Regions from separate parts of the Homo sapiens genome. Here region 1 is linked to region 2. Evidence: promoter capture Hi-C in 16 types of primary human blood cells and fetal thymus (Javierre and others, 2016). All regions are on one chromosome and are shown on one strand. The core of a region is centred on a gene start or on the middle of the fragment in contact, and the rest is flanking DNA. Distances in the headings are between cores, read along the strand shown.

Evidence for each region. The method cuts DNA at HindIII sites, captures the fragments that hold promoters and counts their contacts. A CHiCAGO score of 5 or more calls a contact.
Region 1: the fragment with the promoter of MRPL58 here is called in contact with the fragment with the promoter of NT5C in region 2 in 1 of 17 cell types (endothelial precursors); the score reaches 5.0 in endothelial precursors.

Annotation. Positions count from the first base shown.
Region 1 is chr17:75,010,518-75,014,722 of GRCh38, reverse strand. MRPL58 (mitochondrial ribosomal protein L58) reads right to left here and starts at 2,053. Exons shown (of 6, transcript NM_001545.3): 1 at 1,851-2,053. The coding sequence starts at 2,036. RefSeq lists enhancers at 1,043-1,725, 1,746-1,825, 1,876-2,185, 1,726-2,409, 2,276-2,425 and a silencer at 2,078-2,260. The HindIII fragment of the contact is 1,964 bases long and covers 1,219-3,182 here.
Region 2 is chr17:75,128,489-75,133,137 of GRCh38, reverse strand. It overlaps NT5C (5', 3'-nucleotidase, cytosolic), which reads left to right and starts at 1,396. Exons shown (of 5, transcript NM_014595.3): 1 at 1,396-1,604; 2 at 1,857-1,957; 3 at 2,033-2,093; 4 at 2,271-2,385; 5 at 2,496-2,910. The coding sequence starts at 1,431. The coding sequence ends at 2,650. ARMC7 (armadillo repeat containing 7) reads right to left here. Exons shown (of 3, transcript NM_024585.4): 3 at 2,866-4,461. The coding sequence ends at 4,100. RefSeq lists silencers at 1,234-1,803, 2,173-2,377 and an enhancer at 2,414-2,503. The HindIII fragment of the contact is 6,056 bases long and covers 1-3,321 here.

The sequences.
Region 1 (4,205 bases), core at 804-3,303, 120 kb after region 2:
GTAATCCCAGCACTTTGGGAGGCTGAGGCGAGCAGATCATTTGAGGTCAGGAGTTTGAGACTAGCCTGGCCAACATGGTGAAAACCCTGTCTCTACTAAAAATGCAAAAATATGAGTCGGGCATGGTGGTGCATGCCTGTAATCCCAGCTACTCGGGAGGCTGAGGCACAAGAATCACTTGAACCCAGGAGGCGGAGGTTGCAGTGGGCTGAGATCACGCCACTGCACTCCAGCCTGGATGACAGAGTAAGACCCTGTCTCAAAAAAAAAAAAAAAAAAAAGCCTGGCGCGGTGGCTCACGCCCGTGATCAAGACCAACCTGGCTAATACGGTGAAACCCCCTCTCTACTAAAAAAAAAAAAAAAAAAAATTAGCCGGTTGTAGTGGTGGGCGCCTGTAGTCCCAGCTACTCAGGAGACTGAGGCAGGAGAATGGCGTGAACCCGGGAGGCGGAGCTTGCAGTGAACAGAGATTGCATCACTGCACTCCAGCCTGGGCGACAGAGTGAGACTCCGTCTCAAAAAAAAAAAAAAAAAAAAAAAAGGCCCCAGACTTCAATTCCTCTTTTATTCTCACTTCTCACATCCAATCAATTAGCAAATCTTGCAGGCTTTCTTTCCAAAATACGTCTAGGATCTGACCAATTCTCATGACTCCTACTGCTTCCACCCTGCTTATCATCTCTTGCCCTACATTGCAATCTCCTTACTTGTCTCCCTGATCTTGGCATCCTCTATCTGTTCTCTGTAAGGCTCTCTGAGTGATCCTTGTAAAACTAAGATAATTCCATTCTGCTTCAAGCTCTCCAATAGGTCTCCCTTGCGTTCAGAGGAAAGGCTGGAGGCCATTAAGTCCTAGTAACAGGCCTTTCCCCAGCCATCCCTCTCTTTGGCTTTGTCTCCTGACCCCTGCTGAGCCACACCTGGGGATTGCTACTGCCTTCAGGTTATTGCACTTTCTCTTCCCTCTGCCTAGGATGCTCATCCGCCCCCTATTCTCATGACTTGCTGTCTGGCTTCTTCCAGGTCGTTATTCAAATGCCACCTCATTGACAGCGTTCCTAGACAATCCTACTTAAAATTGCAACCCTACTTCCTACCTCTGGCACTACTTCTTCCTTCTTGGCTTTATTTTCTGCAAAGTACTACCTCACACATTCTATATTAGTCATTTACTTACTGCTTGTCTCCCTCCACTAGAACATAAGCTCCACAAGCTTTAGAATTTCAATTTTGTTTGCTACTCCATCCCCTAGCCTAGCACAGCTTTTGTTGAGTGAGTGAGTGAATTAATGAACAAATGAATGGATATTCTTTTCCAGTCCTGTAAGTGGAAGCTCAATGGGTTTGGGTGGGTCTTATCTCTCTTGCTCCGGGGCTTGATTCAATGCCTGCACACAGCTGGCTAAATAAATGCATCCTGAAGGAACGACAGAGAAGCTGTTTTATTCGCGCGTCCTGGGGTTACTAGAGACAATGGACACTGTAACGTCCCAAAGGGTAGCAAACAACTTGGCAGCCTCTTGCCTTTATTGTCCGCCTTGGAGGGCCAGAATGCCCGTATTTCCCCTTGGGACTGGAATTTGGTCTTGAGGGCCAAGGACACGAACGTAGAAAAGCTGGCAGCCTTGAAAGAAGCATACCCAGCCGGCCTTCCGGGCTCCTGCACATCTCGCGCTACAGCGAGCACCCCACTCCCGGCCAGGTTAGCGCAGACAGCCAGCCCCCTCCCGCGGCGACCATCACGTAGCCCCCCGACGTAGCTCCACATCCGGCCAATGGGCCTGGGGTTCCTAACGTCACCCAGCAGCCTGACAAAACGCCCCTTCCGTCCAGTCCTTCCCGGCTCACCGGGACCCTCCAGGCGGTGTCCGAGCCCTGAGATTCGGGGTAGAGCTTGTCCAGGCTGTAGATGCTCTTGAACTCAGTGCCGTCTTTCTGCTTGTGCAGCGCCCGGCGTGGGCACCGTGCGGGCGGTGGGAGCAGCCAGACTCCGGCTCGGCTCAGGCCCCAGCGCAGGCACCTGGTGGCCGCCATGCTCAGGTCTTGCGACTGCTTCCGGCGGGCGCTTCCTCCCCGCGGTCCGCAAACTCGAGCCGCCCTCGAGCTTTGGTTCCGCGCAGTTTCTAGGTCCCGCCGAGGGGAGGCGGCAAACTGGGGTCCCGCCGATGCTTTCTGGCCGGCCGCCTCCGGGAGGCCTGGTTGGCTGGGGAAGACGGTGGCCAGAGAGCGAGCTGCTACCGGAAGAGTGCCCCGATCTTGTGGCCCCCAGAAACACCACTTCTCTCCTTTCAGAGTCCGTGCCCTCCGCCTGGACCGCCCACTGCCCAATTCAAACAGCAGCGAGGCCTGCCCGGCCAGCCTGGGGCATCTCCCGCCCCGCGCTTCCCAGCCCCTTTACTCTGCTCTAATTTATCTTTTTTCTCTTCCTTTACAAAAATCACTCAGTCCTAATTGTCTAATTGCTGTCTCCTAGCCGGAATGTGAGCTCCAGGAGGGCACCGGCTCACTGGTATATCCCCAGCACCCAGAACATGGCACATCGTGGGCACCCCATGAGTACTGATAAAATGAATTCTGTAGGAATGTACTTTTGAAAGTTGGGTTCTGGTAGAGCTGAGTTTTAGGAACGCCAGGCTCTTTTTACAAGGCAGCCTATGAGCAAATTCCCCGCTGAGCACGTGTGTGTACTGGCTTATACCCAGCAGCTCTGCAGGACAAATACCAGATGGGAGGAGAAGGCAGGCCACCGAAAGAAATGTTTGCAAAACCTGGAACATCGTCCCCCGCCCTTCAGCTTTATGGAGCAAGATGATGCTTTCTTCCAGCCAGGAGAGAGGGGGTCCCTCGGGAGGTAGGGAGAGAATTCAGAGAACTGCCAGCTAACTAGAACCCTTTCATAGCGCTGGTAAGGGATGAACTACAGACAAGTTCCAATTCTGAAAAAGGTTCACAGTAGAGCAAGCAGTGTTTGAAAACAGCTAAACCTTAGTTAAGTTACTGTGTTGAGAGGCTATGTGGTAAATGGAAACAAAGCTAAATAAATGTTCATAATTATTAGTAATGCTAGCGATTGTTTCTTAATGAAGAGTTCTATTTTTAGGAACAAGCATAATTATCTAGAAAAATGTGCCCCCGGGGATGCTGGCTGATTGAAACAGGAGATTGTCATCACACCAAGCTTTTACCATCTCCGCATTATGGCTACAGCAAATCTTTAAGAAGGAATAAACCACTTTCTAAGCACTGGCTTTATAAGCTCAGACTAGAAAGGGGTGACAATTGACATATCTCGGGCTCTATCTCGGGTTGGGAGGAGAGTCTCCTGGGTCCCGCGCTGTTTGACTTAGTCCCAAGACCTCAAAGGGAATAGACGCATCTCTATGGCAACTGGAATAAGCTGCTCAGAGGAGCAAAACCAGGCATTCACTCAGGTCGGGGGCTAAGGGGTTATGAGTAATAAAGTCAGAACCTTTCCATGACATCATTGCTCTGAGGCTGGGCTCCAGCTCTGCACCTGACCCAAGGCAATAGGAAAAGGAAGCTGCAGGTTTCCATGGCCCCAAATAAACACAGCCTGCTTGGGCCATCTGGTGGCCTGGATTCTGGGAGAGGAGGTGGGTAGAGGAGAGAATGAGGCAAGCCGCCCTGGGGTGGAGAGAGGAGCAGCTGGCAAGCTCCTCTTACCTGCTGCTGCCGTGAACTATCCAGAATGGGGGCCCTGGGAGAAAGGCCAGAAAGGGGCCACCTGTTCTCCCAAAAAGATGGGCACTAAAGGCTGAGGCCAGTCTTCCCTTTCTCCTCCTTGGTTTTCTATAGGCCGAGATGGTGCTTCAGGGAGGGGACATTCATGGGAGAAGAGAGGAAAGAGGTCATTTCTGGCAGCTGAGGAGCTTGCAGACACAAGCCTTTCTATAGGGCCTATGAGTTGGGGTACTATTCCTATGTAGGGGGTCCTACATAGGACCTACATAGGACCCCTTTCTTCTTCTCTGTACCGCCCTGGGTCAGAAGACCTCCTTTTTTTTTTTTTTTTTGAGATTGACTCTCGCTCTGTTGCCGAGGCTGGAGTGCAATGGCACGATTTCAGCTCACTGCAACCTCTGCCTCCTGGGTTCAAGTAATTCTCCTGCTTCAGCCTCCCGAGTAGCTGGGACTACAGGCGTGCACCACCATGCCCGACTAATTTTTGTATTTTTAGTAGAG
Region 2 (4,649 bases), core at 147-2,646:
ACGGCGCCTGGCTTTATAGTTTGTAGGCAAATAGATTTGAGTGGAGTCAGGAAGTTTCATGACATCCACAAAAAGAAGAGTCAACAAAATGTATCACAGTTCAGCATGTTCTTTTTTTTTTTTTTTTTTTTTGAGAAGGAGTTTTGTTCTTGCTGCCCAGGCTGGAGGGCAATGGCATGATCTCGGCTCACCGCAACCTCTGCCTCCTGGATTCAAGAGATTCTCCTGCCTCAGCCTCCCGGGTAGCTGGGATTACAAGCATGTGCCACCACGCTAATTTTGTATTTTTAGTAGCGACAGGATTTCTCCATGTTGGTCAGGCTGGTCTTGAACTCCCGACCTCAGATGATCCGCCCGCCACGGCCTCCCAAAGTGCTGGGATTATAGGCGTGAGCCACCGCACCTGGCCCTGTTCAGCATTTTCTAGACGGGAGTAGGTAAGCGATGTCAGTTCCACATAAAGTCCTGAGGACAGTCCTGATTACCTGTGCTTGATCAAAATCATCTTTCCGGGGGAAACCACACTTGAAGCTCCCATGTTTCAAGCCAACTCTAGTGTGAATTAGTCTCTTAACGAGCTAGACTTACACAAACCAGTTAACAGATTCATTTCACTTTGTAGTCCTCGAGGGATTGTTCCTGCTCCACTGCACAGACGAAAGCAATCCACTGAGACCACGGTACTGCGGTAATAAGACTTTGGCCAGGTGCGGTGGCTCAAGCCTATAATCCCAACACTTTGGGAGGCCAAGGCAGGCAGATCACTTGAGGTCAGGAGTTTGAAACCAGCCTGACCAACATGGCGAAACCCCGTCTCTACTAAAACTACAAAAATTAGCCAGGCGTGGTGGCGGGTGCCTGTAATCCCAGCTACTCGGGAGGCTGAAGCAAGAGAATCGGTTGAACCCGGGAAGCGGAGGCTGCAGTGAGCCGAGATCGCGCCGCCACTGCGCCGCAGCCTGGGCGACAGAGCCAGACTCCGTCTCAAAATAAAAAAAAAAAAAAAGAAAAAAAGAAAAAAAATGTGGAGCTAGCCCCACGGGTTTAGGACCCTTGACTCCTCGTTAGATGCTTCCCAGTATTTCAGAGCATCCCTTTGTTGGGCCCCCGGAAGGTCGGTCCCCTACTAGTAACGTGGGGTGAACGGGGGTACGTCTGCCGTAAAGTGGGAGGCGGCTGATGGGGACAAAGGCTGGGTCCCGAAGAAGCGCAGGGTCAGAAAAGTGCCCCCCAAAGCCGTCCCTGCACCCGAACCCTAGGATGGCCTCGCGCAACCGCAGGGCCGTCGGCACTGGTTTACGACCTGGGCGGGGCGGCCCGGACACTCTATGCAAATCAGCCCGGCGGACTCCGGAAGCAGCGCTCCCTCCGCTTCCGGCCGAGCCCGCGCCCCCCAGACCCCGAGAGCTCGCAGCTCCGGCCCGGCGGCGATGGCGCGGAGCGTGCGCGTGCTGGTGGACATGGACGGCGTCCTGGCCGACTTCGAGGCCGGCCTCCTGCGGGGCTTCCGCCGCCGCTTCCCTGAGGAGCCGCACGTGCCGCTGGAGCAACGCCGCGGCTTCCTGGCCCGCGAGCAGTACCGCGCCCTGCGGCCCGACCTGGCGGTAGGGGGCGCAGGGTCCCCACCCGGGCAGGGCCCGCTCGCTCCGTTCCGGGGGTCTCCCCCTTCTCTGTGAAGGGCGCAGAGCTCTCACCCTGGAACCCGCGGGCAGCGCACCCTGGGGAGGAGCCTTTGGGCGCGTGCCCCTGACCGACGCCCCCTCCGCCCCTCTGAGCTCGGGCCCGGAGCCCCCAGGAGCCTCCCTGCGGGTCCTCGCGGGAACGGGAAGCCGGGACCCAGAACTCTTGTCTTTCAGGATAAAGTGGCCAGTGTGTACGAAGCCCCGGGCTTTTTCCTGGACCTGGAGCCCATCCCGGGAGCCTTGGACGCTGTGCGGGAGATGAACGACCTACCGGAGTAAGGAGAGAGGGGGGCGGGCGGAGTCCTGGGCGGGCTCCTGGCTCCCGGCGGTAACCGCGTCCTTCTCCGCAGCACGCAGGTCTTCATCTGCACCAGCCCCCTGCTGAAGTACCACCACTGTGTGGGTGAGAAGGTGTGGCTGCCCCGCCCCTACTCCGCACGTGGAGCTGCCTAAATCCTGATTTTAAAAAGAAACCACCAGAAACCCAGAAGGTGGGGGTGGGGGGCTCTCAAGGGCTTAGAGCCAAGTCCCTATCCCTGAATTCCGGCTTCCATCAGGCCCTACTCACAGACTGTGTTTTCTACACAGTACCGCTGGGTGGAGCAGCACCTGGGGCCCCAGTTCGTAGAACGAATTATCCTGACAAGGGACAAGACGGTGGTCTTGGGGGACCTGCTCATTGATGACAAGGACACAGTTCGAGGTTGGACCCGTTATCCTTGGCAGCCTCCAGGCCTCTGGCCTGCCCGGATTAGGGAGAGGGAGTAATAATACCCATGACAGATGGCAGCGCGCTGTCTTTCACTGTCCTAGGCCAGGAGGAGACCCCAAGCTGGGAGCACATCTTGTTCACCTGCTGCCACAATCGGCACCTGGTCCTGCCCCCGACAAGGAGACGGCTGCTCTCCTGGAGTGACAACTGGAGGGAGATCTTAGATAGCAAGCGCGGAGCTGCGCAGCGGGAATGAGCGGGGATGCCGCGGGCAGCAGCTGGAGCTAAAGGAAGGGCAGGCCCACAGGGGCCACCGCAGAGCCGAGTCGGGGCGGCATCGTGCTGGTGCCTCTGGCCCCGTGGAGTGGAGCAGGCAGATACCGTTAAGCGCTGTGCTACCGGGCCCCAGGCCCAGCCACCCGGTACCTCCCGAGAGGCTGTCCCTGGACCCTGGCTGGCATGGAAATACAGTGGGAAAACCAGTCGGGACCTTTAATAAAAGACCTTGGCTTTCTAGTCTTCTAGGACCCTTTATTTGGGAACATAAAGGGACAGGCTCCCTGAGCGGGTGCTGATGAGCCCTTCCCTCCCCTCTGAGTCCAGTGGTCCCCTAATCTGCCCCATTTCCATGCCCACGTGGGTACCATTTTTGTAGCACCTGCCATTCCTGGGCCATCTAAGGGGTCAGCCTTGAGGGGGTACACGAGAGGCAAGGACCCCCATTTTCCCTGAGCTCCACCTTTCCATCGGATCCCACGCTCCTTATGTTGACCAGGGGGCACCATGGACATGGAGCCACATCCTTTACGTTGCCGTCTCTTCCTGACTCCCTTGAGCAACACTCACTGCGTCCCTGATGCCCTCGTGGGATACACTTCTGGGGTAGGGCTCCCCATCATTGAGTGACAGCAGAGGAGGGCCGAAGCTTTCAGCCGGGGCCATGGGGTGGCAAGGGGAGAAGATGCAGTTACCAGGGCTGGTGCCTCTATTCCGACGTATCATCACCTGCATGGCCTTGTGCTTGATGCCCGATGGCCACATTAAGTCCCTGGGCTGTCACTCAAGGGCAGGGACCACATCTTCATCTTGGAGTCATGGTGCCTAACAGCAAGGCTGGGTGGACAGTCAATGCTGGGCCACAGGTTATCCAGGTTGGCATCCACCAGGCCCAAATGCCCAGCTTGGAGAGCCCCTGGGGGAGGCATCCATCCTCCAGAGCCCTGGAGGGGGCACCACATCTTCCCAGGGTGAGATCCTTTCACCACGAGGCATCTCATTCCTATACCTGAAAACTACTCCAGACACTTCTGTTAAGGGATAATCCCTGATTTCCTGCAGCGAAGGCAGCTCTCCTAAGCCTCAGGCCCAGCTCCTGAGAACACTGTCCTGCAAAGCCTCTGGGTCCAGGCACTTGGCCGCTTCTTACACCAGGGCCTGAGTCTGGTGGTGGTGGCACCTGATGTAGGATTGAGAGTGCCAGCCTATGAACGCAGCTCCAGTTTGATCTTCTCCGTGTCTCTGGAGTCTGGCTTCCTCACTCCCAGTGGCGTTTCATCAGTGTAAATGCCTGTCCTGCTGAAAGAACCCGCCTTTCAGATGGCTGAAAAGGCACCAATGGGGCAGTATGTGCTCCCCGTTCCCTGCGTCCACATCAGGACTGTGGTCTCCAGCAGTAGGGGTGCCACGGTCTCGCAGTCTCCATGGATCAGCGCTGCCGTGGGGCCACGCTCCTCGGCAGTGGGATACCCAGGGCAGAGTGCGCCTGCCGGCTGCGGGCCTCGGCCACCTGGCGGGGGGAGCAGAAGTCCTCCAGGAAGATCTGTGCCAGGTTCCGGAGCCTGGCGCTGGCCGAGAGGGAGAAGCGAAGCATGCACTGCACCACGGGCGTGGCGGTCAGCTCTGGGAGAAAGCTGCGGCCCGGCGGGCTCAGGTGCATGAGCGTGGTGATGGCAGACAGCACCGTCTCCTCATTGGGGCTGGATAGGCAGTTGATGATGAGTGGGACACCTCCTGCGTGCAGGATGTGCTCCTTGTTGGCCCTGTCTGGGCACAGGTTGCACAGGCCTCCTGTGGGAGAGCAAGGAAGAGTCTGGATGCTGTAGCCCCGGGCCTCCTCCCACCTCCCCTGCCCGTGAGCCCCAGGTAGGGGCCCAGGCTGTTGAGAAGCTGGCCCCAGCACAAGGCATCCAAAGCCCATTCCGGCTCCTGCCTTCTCAAGTTTCCAGAAAGGCCTGCCTGCCTGCTCCAGCCTGCCA